Linked DNA regions of Homo sapiens: region 2 is linked to region 1. Evidence: promoter capture Hi-C in human tissues and cell types (Jung and others, 2019). All regions are on one chromosome and are shown on one strand. Each heading gives the region's core, a stretch centred on a gene start or on the middle of the fragment in contact. The rest is flanking DNA. Distances are from core to core; before and after follow the strand shown. Region 1 holds the start of HOXD1 (homeobox D1). Region 2 has its middle 22 kb from the start of MTX2.

The links. The method cuts DNA at HindIII sites, captures the fragments that hold promoters and counts their contacts. A contact is called where the count stands out against the background at its distance.
Region 2: a fragment that was not itself captured here is called in contact with the fragment with the promoter of HOXD1 in region 1 in 1 of the 25 tissues and cell types used here (hippocampus).

What each region holds. Positions count from the first base shown.
Region 1 is chr2:176,186,709-176,191,917 of GRCh38, reverse strand. HOXD1 (homeobox D1) reads right to left here and starts at 3,250. Exons shown (of 2, transcript NM_024501.3): 1 at 2,465-3,250; 2 at 1,011-2,110. The coding sequence starts at 3,116. The coding sequence ends at 1,776. It overlaps HAGLR (HOXD antisense growth-associated long non-coding RNA), which reads left to right and starts at 2,960. Exons shown (of 3, transcript NR_033979.2): 1 at 2,960-3,104. MIR7704 (microRNA 7704) reads right to left here and starts at 3,075; the gene lies at 3,017-3,075. The HindIII fragment of the contact is 12,505 bases long and covers 1-5,209 here.
Region 2 is chr2:176,244,649-176,249,857 of GRCh38, reverse strand. No RefSeq gene overlaps it. Among named protein-coding and RNA genes, the nearest start is that of MTX2, 22 kb to the left of the region's middle. The HindIII fragment of the contact is 3,213 bases long and covers 1,257-4,469 here.

The DNA.
Region 1 (5,209 bases), core at 2,001-4,500:
AAATAGATTAGAGAATAGGTTTTGGGGTTTTTTTTAACCACATACTCTCTTGTCAACTTTCAAGTTTTGTGCTTGTACCTCTTCCAAAGTATTCATTTGAAAATATTTCATTTTTGAAATCAGAAAGGCACTGTCTGTGCTCTCTCTCCGCCAGATACTCAGTCTGGGTTACAGGAAGTAGAAATTTGTGACTACTAGCCTTTCCCAGCCTCCTTTGTAACTCTTGACTTTGGAAATGGGAATTCAGCCACTGAGAACTTTTTGATGTGCAGCTGCCTTTCTCAGGGAACACTAACCAAGAAACAAAGTCTTCAGGTCACCTTTCCTCTTCCTTTTGTGAGGACAGGAGACAAAAGAACAAGATCTCCCTGAAGTGTCTCCTTGGCTTTACAACATTCCACAGTAGGCACCTAACACTTGAGTTAAATGTGCAGACTACACACCTACCATAAAATTAGGGCACTCAAGGTAAGGAAAGTATTTCCATAGTTACTTGGATATTTGGCAGAGTAGTTTTCTCTCTTAAACTACTAATTGCCCATAACTTGCTGGGTGTGTACACAACCTGTAGGAAGTATTATTTTTAAAAGTTATCGGCTGGGCGTGGTGGCTCACGTTTGTAATTCTAGCACTTTGTGAGGCCGAGGTGGGCGGATCACCTGAGGTCAGGAGTTCGAGTCCAACCTGGCCAACATGGTGAAACCCCGTCTCTACTAAAAAAAATACAAAAAATTAGCTGGGCATGGTGGCTCATGCCTGTAATCCCAGCTACTGGGGATGGTGAGGCAGGAGAATCACTTGAACCTGGGAGGCAGAGGTTGTGGTGAGCCAGAATTGTGCCACTGCACTCCAGCCTGGGCAACAGAGCAAGACTCCGTGTCAAAAAAAAAAAAAAGTTATCAACATAAACAAATTCTCATAGCAGAATCAAGAAAATTCAAATACAGGAAACTGAATCAACTTTAAAGAAAGAGAATCATTATTAAAGAGTGTAAGAAAAGCAGAGAGCAGCAGATTCTATAATTTTTATTACAAAAAAAACCCTTTACATGCTATGACATTAAATGTCACTTATAAGGTCATTGCAAGCAAATCTTTTTAAAAAATATACATACTGTATATATTTACATTCAAGTTTGAATAATATTTGTCAAGATATAGTTCAGATTCTACTCTTTACCCATTCTGTGGATTTGTTCATCTAGTAACTAAACAGCGATTGTATCATCACTCAGGCACATAGAGAGGTAGAAACCGCTTTTTTAAAGAAAAAAAAACTGGAGTGCAAATGTGAAGATCACTGAAGCAGCTTAGCTACATCAAGGAGACCCTAACTAGCTTTGGTCATCTCAAAAAGCTGAATATATGTAGCCTTGTCCTTTAAATTAAAACCAGAAAAACTTTGGGCAGGTGCTCTTCTGAGCACATCAGAGTGCTGACAGAACTCAGCAACTAATGGTCTGCCACTCTGCAACGCGAATTGCACATGACTAAGTGAGGCAAAGATAGCAGCGGAGCTGGGCTGGCAGCTGGGCACCTTTTCCCTGATAAGACACAAATCATAACCAAACAAGTGGCTTACAAGACAGTCAATTAATATCTGGACATATAGTCTGGAACTCGGAAGCCAACTAAAGTACTTCATTTCCCAAGTGAAATCCCTATTCATTTTTGTTCTCCCACCTCCATCCCAAACTGAGCTCCTAAGTCTAGATAGGGATGGGGGTCGCCTGGGACTTCTGCAGGCCACAGTTTTTCGGCCCCAAGTACCGGCCTCACGAAGGCTCTTGGGACTGAGAAGGGCTGCCGGGGTTCTTGATAAACTTAGTGGGGGTTGTTCCAGAGAGGGGAAGTTGGAGGGGAGCCACAGGAATGGCCGTGGCCAGAAGCCCTTCTCGTTCCCTTTTCTTCTGTTTCATCCTGCGGTTCTGGAACCAGATTTTGACTTGCGTGTCATTCAGGTGCAAGCAGTTGGCTATCTCGATGCGCCGGGCTCGAGTTAAGTACTTATTGAAATGAAACTCTTTTTCCAGTTCTGTCAGTTGCTTGGTGCTGAAATTCGTGCGGATCGCGCTGGAGGGGCTAGCGGCCCCATACTCGGCGAGTTTGCCTGCAACGTAAAGACAGGGCGTCAGCCAGGCCTGAGGCCGGGGACAGAATGTGGGTGAGCAGTGGAGCTAGTTAGAATCAAAGTCCCAGCGCAGCCCTCCTGGGTCCCTAGGAACAGAATTTGTACCAGGAGAAGTTCCACGGAGAGCTCCTTCCTGAAATTTTCTCAATGCCTGGCACATTTTCCGAATCTGTACTCGAGGCAGACTCCATGGAATTCGCCCGGGAACGCGTCTCCTCCACAAAACCCAAACCGCTGTCTGGAAAGGCAGCGACACCACGCTCCCAGCGCATTTCCGCGGGGGAGGCTCCGTCCCCAACCCCAGGTGGCCCCATCCAAGGCCCGCGGACTTACCTTTCTTAGAGGCATTCCTCTTCACTTTCATCCACTCGAACGTGCTGAAGGCGGCAGGGAGGCCGGAGGCGGGAGAGACGGACTTGGGGTAGGTGCCTGGGGCCGGGGATGCGGTCTGGAAAGCACCAGGGTGGCCGTCGGCTGACGCTTTGAGACAAGCCGGAAAAGGGCCGGGTTCGCCGAAGGCCGCGTAATCCACCTGGCCGCTGAGGAGGAAAGAGCCGCCGCCCGAGAAGACGGCCGAGGTGGCGTAGTGGACGTGAGACCCGCCGTCGTCGGCCGCCCGCCCCAGCACGCCCGGGAAGTCGTACGCCGGCCCGGACCCCAGGAAGCCGTAGTCCGCGCCCCCAGCTGCCGCGGCAGGTGCGGCACCAGGTTCGTAGGCCCCCTCCAGGGTGCACTGCGCGTACTGGGGCGCGGCCGGAGGCGGTACGGACGGCCGCGCGGGGGCGGCCGGGGGCGAAGGCGAGGGTCGGGCGGCGGCCAGGGGCAGACAGCTGACGAAGGCGCCGTCGCCGTTGCCCAGAGGGAAGGCGGGCTGCAGAGCCACGGGCCGGGCGTCGGAGCGGCAGAACTTGGGTGCCAAGCTGAGCACGTCGCCGCCGACCCCGCCGCTGCTGCTGCATGACACGTACTCCAGGTAGGAGCTCATGGTTCGGGCCCCACCTTTCTGAGGGCGCAGGCCGGGGCCGGAGTACGGAGCCGGGCAGAGGCTGAGCAGGACTGCCGCCGTCTGCGCCGCTCCGCCAGCCCTCTCTACCCGAGCTGCCCTCTCCAACCCATGGCGAGTGAGCCGGAGGTAAATAGTGGCCTAATATACCGGCGGGGGCGGCCACGTGGCGCTGGCCGGCCAATGGGCGGCCTCTCCGCTCGGCCCGGTCGGCGCGCCGCTCCTCGCGCCTGCCCCGCAGCCAAGTTAGCCAAAGCAGCCCAGGGCCGCCGCCCAGCGCCCCCGAGCCCCGAGGAGAGCCGTCGCGACCGGGGGCTGCCTGGGCAAGGGCGGGGCGAGAGGGCAGAACGCCTGCTCTCGGACAGGTATTGGGCGAGGTGGGGGGAGAAAGGCAGGACTGGACGCTTGGGTGAGGGCCCGTGGATGCAGCGGGGCGAGCCGCTTCTGCTCTGGATCGTGGGGGGGGCTAGTCCCTCGAGGGCGGAGTGTGGGCGTCGCGGCATGGAAAAGGTTAAATGGGAGCGTGACGCGCGGCCGGTGGAGACTGCTCTTCGCCCACCTCCAGGACAGATAAAGTTATTCCTCTTCCCCTCTTCTGAGTCCTCTGCGCTTTCGGTTTGCTTGGCGCTGATGTTATCCCTCTTCTAAACCTAGAGCAGATGTTTGGTTTTTTCCTTTCTTCCCCCTTTCCTAGGACTCATGGAACTACATCTTATGCTGTGAGTGCTGTGTGCCTAGGGCGGGACAAAATTTTCACTTTTTGACTAGGCTTCCTTTTAACGTGACTTTGCAGCTTTCTTCTATCCCTCGCAATTTGTGGCGGCGTGATGAGGGCCAGTGTTGTAGTGCCAGATTTTGATAAAGTTTCTGCCTTGTGGGGTGGTTTAGCAGATTTTCCCCTCCGGCTGGGTTGTTGGAATAAAGAATCCAGAGTGGTGGTGGAACACTCCTTATGCTCCTTTCTGGGAGACTGGCACAGGCACCGGTGCGGCGCTTGCTTTCACTGAGGAGCTTGTCTGGAGGGCGCAAGGGCTTACCGGGGACGGGTGAGATCTCAGAGGTTTAGATGGACTTGTACCTCGAAGCAATTAGAGCTTCTGCTCCATCAGATAAGTGCTGCATCGTCTCTTGTGAGTGAAATCTGAGGGCTCACAATGTTAATGGGCTCACGTCTTTCCCTTGATAATATGGTTTTGTTTACTGAGTGTAGAGAGACGGGAAATAAAAGTGCAATTGCCACAGGAAATGAAGAGTAGAAAGGTTACAAAGACCAGCTTTACATTGACAAACTTTCCAACTTCCTTTAGTATTTCTTTTAATGTTCCCTTTTGAGGGGACTGTAGGAAAATTACAAATTAGATAAATAGAGGTTATTTACACACAGTAGTTATGAAAGAGGGTGGTTTCCTAAAACCCTGTGTGAATAAAGACTCTAAAGAGTCTACTCAGAGCTTATATCAAGTGCCCTTGAAAAGTTAATCTATTACAGCCTCTAAGTTATGGTAACCGAGGTTTTATCATTGTTTTACTGATTGACTTGTCATAAAAGAGCGATTGAGCTGTTGTTGCCTAAATTTCCACTCTGAGGAAGTCTTTAGAATAGGCGCCATCACAGCCCAGGGAGCCAGTTCCTTCCAGGGTTGTGGACTTGTGAATAAACAAAGCCCTACCAAAATGTGGACTACTGATGGACCCGAAGTTGCTGCAGGATGGGGGAGGGATGTCCCCAGGTTGAGGGGAGCCAGTAGAGGGTGGATGCCTAGGAATCAGCACAAAGTTAAAGAGGTCTGTGGTTCCTGCACTGCTGGAGTTCTTGAGTTTGATTGGAAATGGAATACCTGTGCTGAAAATAGCCCTTCAATCTTGATTTTGCTATTTCAGTTGTGCTATAGCCAGTCAGATAAGGTCCTAAATAATTTTTATTTATTTATTTATTTAATTTTTTTTTTTAAGTGCAGTGGCGCGATCTCGGCTCACTGCAAGCTCAGCCTCCCCGATTCACGCCATTCTTCTGCCTCGGCCTCCCGAGTAGCTGGTACTACAGGCGCCCACCACTATGCCCGGCTAATTTTTTG
Region 2 (5,209 bases), core at 1,614-4,113, 58 kb before region 1:
AAGAAGTCTGGGATTATGTTAAGTGGCAAAACCTAAGGATAATCAGTGTTCTTGAGAAGAAGAGAAATCTAAAAGTTTGGAAAACATATTTGGAGGAATAATAGAGGAAAATTTCCCCAGCCTTCATAGAGACCTAGACACCCAAATACAAGAAGCACAAAGAACATCTGAGAAATTTATCACGAAAAGACCATCACCTAAGTACATTGTCATCAGGTTACCTAAAGTTAAGATGAAGGAAAGAATCTTAAGAGCTGTGAGACAAAAGCACCAGGTACCCTATCAGGTTAACAGCAGTTTCTCAGCAGAAACCTACAAGCTAGAAGGGAATGGGGCCCTATCTACAGCCTCCTCAAACAAAACAATTATCAGCCAAGAATTTTGTATCCAGCAAAACTAAGCTTCATGCACGAAGGAAAGATAGTCTTTTTCAGACAAATGCTGAGAGAATTCGCCACTACCGAGCCACCACTACAAGAACTGCTAAAAGGAGTTCTAAATCTTGAAACAAATCCTGGAAACACATCAGAACAGAATCTCTTTAAAGCATAAATCTCACAGGACCTATAAAACAAAAATACAATTTAAAAAACTTTGGAATGTTTGGAGGTCACTAGGTAGAGGATATGTAGTGTGAACAAATGTAAAGGAATCCTGTCCTAGAGTTGGTGGGGTGAAGTAACCTGGACCAGAGCTACAGGCTTGGGGTGATCAGTGTACCAAGGTAATCTTTCTCATCATGGGTATGAATAAGATCACTTTTGTAACTGTGGGTTGCTTGAAGGTTTACATTTTGAAAAGTGCTAAATTCACTATATAGCCTTGTACCTTATTTTGGTTTTTTCCTTGCAGCCATTTTATAACTGCAACTAGTTTTTTCCCTTAGGGCAAGAAACTTTCCAATCCAGTTTTATACCCCATAAAGACTCGCACACTATATGGATTCAATAAATATTCGTCGATTGTTCCACTGTGTCAGTGTTACATTCTGAGACACATCAATAATTTCCCTAGGGTTAATAAAAGTAATTGTAAACAGTTGGATACTCTGATGTACCACAGGTTGGCTAAATATAGCAATAATAGCTACCACATTTGCTAAAATAACAGCTAAGCTGCTGTATACAATTTGGGATTAAAGACTCATTAAATAATAACACAATTCTTTCCAGCCAAACTACCTTACTCTTTATTCTAAGCCAGGCATTGAATATTCCAGCTCTCATGTTTCTGGTGACTCCATTTATCTTGTCTGTTAAGACCTTATCACCACATTGCCACATTCTACCTTAACCTCTCTAAAGTCCCCTCTTTGAAGGTCTTCCCAAATGCCCTGGGCCTAGGTTGTCATTCCCACCCAGTATACAATACTCTGTTTCCTTAATTTTATCTATCTAACCCATCTTCCCAACCAGATCTAGCAGGAATCTTTTAAACCTTTTAGTATCCTCTTGACTAGCACAATGTGGTAAAATAATAGGTATTCCATAACTCATTATTGTCGATGATGATTGAAGGATAGGCACCAAATAAGTCCCAAGATCATAGACTGTTAGTGTTGGAAGGAAACCTTGGGACTTCAATGATCTGAGCTTAACACCTGATAGACATTGTATGTTTGACCTCAAATTGACCACATAGGCTAATCAAAGGTTCCCAATCAGGAGTCCCAAGACGGCTGCTGAAACGAGGGCCTCCAGTGATGAAGCTGGTCAGAAAAACTAGTCTAATCCAATGTTATTTTGAAAATGAAGAAACATAGTTGCAAAGAGCTGCAATTATTTTTCCTAGGTCACGTGACTGGTTAGTGATAGAGTCTAGAAACCTAGTTTACTGACCTCTACCTTGAAGATCCTTACACAACACCAAAGTATTTGGAGACTGATACTTCAGCCATATTACCTGTATAAAAGACATACATACTTGACAACTTTTCCTTTCTGCTTTCAATAATGATATTTTGAGTTCAAAATCCTTTTAATAATTAAACTAGACAGCGACTGGATAAACATTGTTCTTTGGGTTAACCAAAATAACTTTGTACTTAAAAATACTTTTTATGGTTATCACCACTGAGGCTTAACTACAAATAAAGTGAAGTAAAAGAAAGCTTCCATAATCAAATTGCTTCCACAATTCTATCCTTGCTATGACCTCCAACAAGGACAAAGATGCTGTGAACTACTAAATCCTCCAAAATAGTTCTTTAATGTAGGTATGTCTTCTTTGATGTTGTAAAATTATCATGCTTCATTTTGTTTTGAACATTCTAGAAAGAATTCAACTGTCTTAATATAGAAGATGCTTTTTACATGGAGTATGCTATGATACCCTCTCAAAAAGAGAGTTTATTAAGTAATTGAGCATACTTAGCTTTCATTGCATGCTCACGAAGTTCTGGTAATGGGAATAATCACTGCCAAAATAAAAAGCTATTTATTTCAGATCTATTCATGCTTTTAAGATTTTGGGGGTACTATCTCAATTTTTTAAATGACATTTAGTATATGAATTAGCTTTATTGCTCTCTGCTTTCCCCCATCTTTTAAACTAACAAAAAAATATGAATTTTAATTTTTAGACAATTTATTCAGCCTTGCTATTGTTATATCTCCAGGGACTAAATTTACATTTTGAAAAAATACCATGATGTGCAAATGTGCATACCCTATTCAGCCAACATATCATAGATACTGTATAGTAACATCTGGGAATATTAAACTTTGCCTTTACTGGCAACCCAATTGGCATCTTGAATTTACAGTGAAGATGTTTTATACTGATGTGTTTTGGAAATCTTTGAAGTATTCTCAAGACAGTATTCTGAGGTTTCTGCAGTGGTCCACTTGAGCCTTTTGAAGTTCCCTATACAATAGGATACATACATATATTTTCCAAAACATGTTTTAGTGGGAAAAGAAGAAAAGTTCAAGTTGGCGGTATAATAAGCTTCCCCGAGTTGTCTGAACCGAATTCCTTTTTGGCACTATTGTTTTGGCAGTCAGCAAGCTTTATGAGACCAGTCTGATAAAACCGTTCCTCTTCCCAGACTGCTTTGTAGATGCTAAATCATTTTAATGCCTCATATTTATGAAGCACTCATATTTCTAAAGTACAGATATAAAATTTTAAATTTACCTCTGAGCATCTGATATTTCAGCTGTGCTTTATCCAAGGGTGATACCCCACAATGGTGGTCACTGCCTGTGTGTGAGGAAATGCTAATGAGCCCACTGTGAAATGATGAGTCCTTCCACAGTGTTCGCCCTGAGCACTGTGCTTTCATTCACAGCCTCAGCCACTTCTGACGGTGCTTGCTCCTGTTTGCACCACTAGCTCCTCCACTGGAGCACAGTGTGGCTTTTGTTTAAAAAGACCTGCCTCGGCCATCTGTTGCTGGTGGTTGCCAGTGGTCCACTACAGTGCTGCAGGCTTACACCATGGATTTCAGAACATTTCTAAAGCACAGTTTTTATCTCCCCTATTTCAGTGTGGTGTCGTTAGCACATAGAAAGCACATAGCTCTGGAGACAACACATGTTCCCAGATGTAACTCCCAGCTCCATCACTTACTAGCTGTAAATCTTTGGAAAAAATCTCTTTGACTCTCAGTTTTCCTTCTCCTCTGGTGGAGTGGCGATACCTTCCTAATTAGACCGTGGTGAGGATGAAATACAACAATGGGTGTAGAACACTTTTCATATGTCAGACCTCTGTTACAGTGTGCAGTTGCCACTCTCTGAACTCCCTTGGATTAGCCAAATGTTAAAATGCACACTGCTTCAATTCTTTTTTAATGTAAAATACACATAACATAAAATTTGTCATTTTAATCATTTTTAAGTGTTCAGTGTCATTAAACACATTCACATTGTTGTGTTACCATCACCACCATCCATCTCTTTTTCATCATCCCAAACTGAAACCCGGGGCCCATTAAACACTGATTCCCCATTCCTCCCTTGTCCCAGCCCCTGGTAACTACCATTCTAATTTCTGTCTTTATGAATGTGACTATTCTTAGGTATGTCGTATAAGTGGAATCATATAATATTTGTCCTTTCTCTTCAATTCTTATAAGTTAGCTATGATTCAGGAATTATTGATTACCTTGCCTTGGCACTAAATTATTAACATTGCCATATATATAATGTATTCAAGCTGTTAGTATCTGTGTGTGTATGTACTTACTATCCTTCTAATGGGATATTAGATGGCAGGATGATGATGGTGGTGGTGGTGGTGTATCTTCCACTGTTATCTCCCCAGCATCCTCCTTTGCATCCTATGGAGCAATAATTTCACTATTAGCAAAATCTTCTCATCCTCTGTCTCTTCACAAGATCTGCCTCACCTCTTGCCTATGGAGAACTTAAGAACATTCTACACCCCCAGCAAGCTACTGCAGCCCTCTGGAGTGGAGGCTATTCATTTTGCATCTCCCATATTCAGTGGGCCCAGAGGCAATATTGGCATTGTCTTAATATTTCTGTTTTTAAATGCATTACTTTTTTATCTTTATGCAAAAACTCTTCATCCTTTAGGTATCTTGTAAACTGAGATTAGCTAATAAAAGTTGCTAAGGCATTGGATGTGGGGTATGAGAAAAAAAGTGATGTGAATCATGATGCCCAGGTTTTAGGCTTTAGAAGGATGGAGTTACTACTGACTAAAATAGAACTGAAAAGGTGGTTTGAAGTAGAAGGAATACATGGAGCTATGTCAGGACATGTTAAATTTGAGATACTCAGATGCTCATCAGATAGCCAATGGGAGATGGCAACTAGGCAGCCTGGGGGTCAGCGAAGAGGTAAAGGAATTTGAAATTCATCAGCCTCTAGATGGTAAAGTCGTGAAGTTAAATGAGATCATGTAGGGAATAAGTGTAGACAGGAAAGAGGAGAGGGCCAAGAATGGACACGCCAACATTTCCAGGTCAGCCAGAGGAAACTGAAAAGAAAAGGCCAGAAAAGTGGGAGGAAATGCAAGCTAGAACGGTATCCTGGAAGACAGGAAAAGAAAGTTTTTGAAGGAAGAAGGTCATCAATTGTCGAATGTTGCTGACAGGTCAAGAAAGATGAGGACTGAAAAATGTCCATTGGGTTTGGAAATCCGGATATCACTGATGACCTTAAAAAGAGCAGTTTTAGTGCAGTGGTGGGAGTGAAAACCTGCCTTAAGTGGGTCCATGAGAGACTTATGGAGAGAA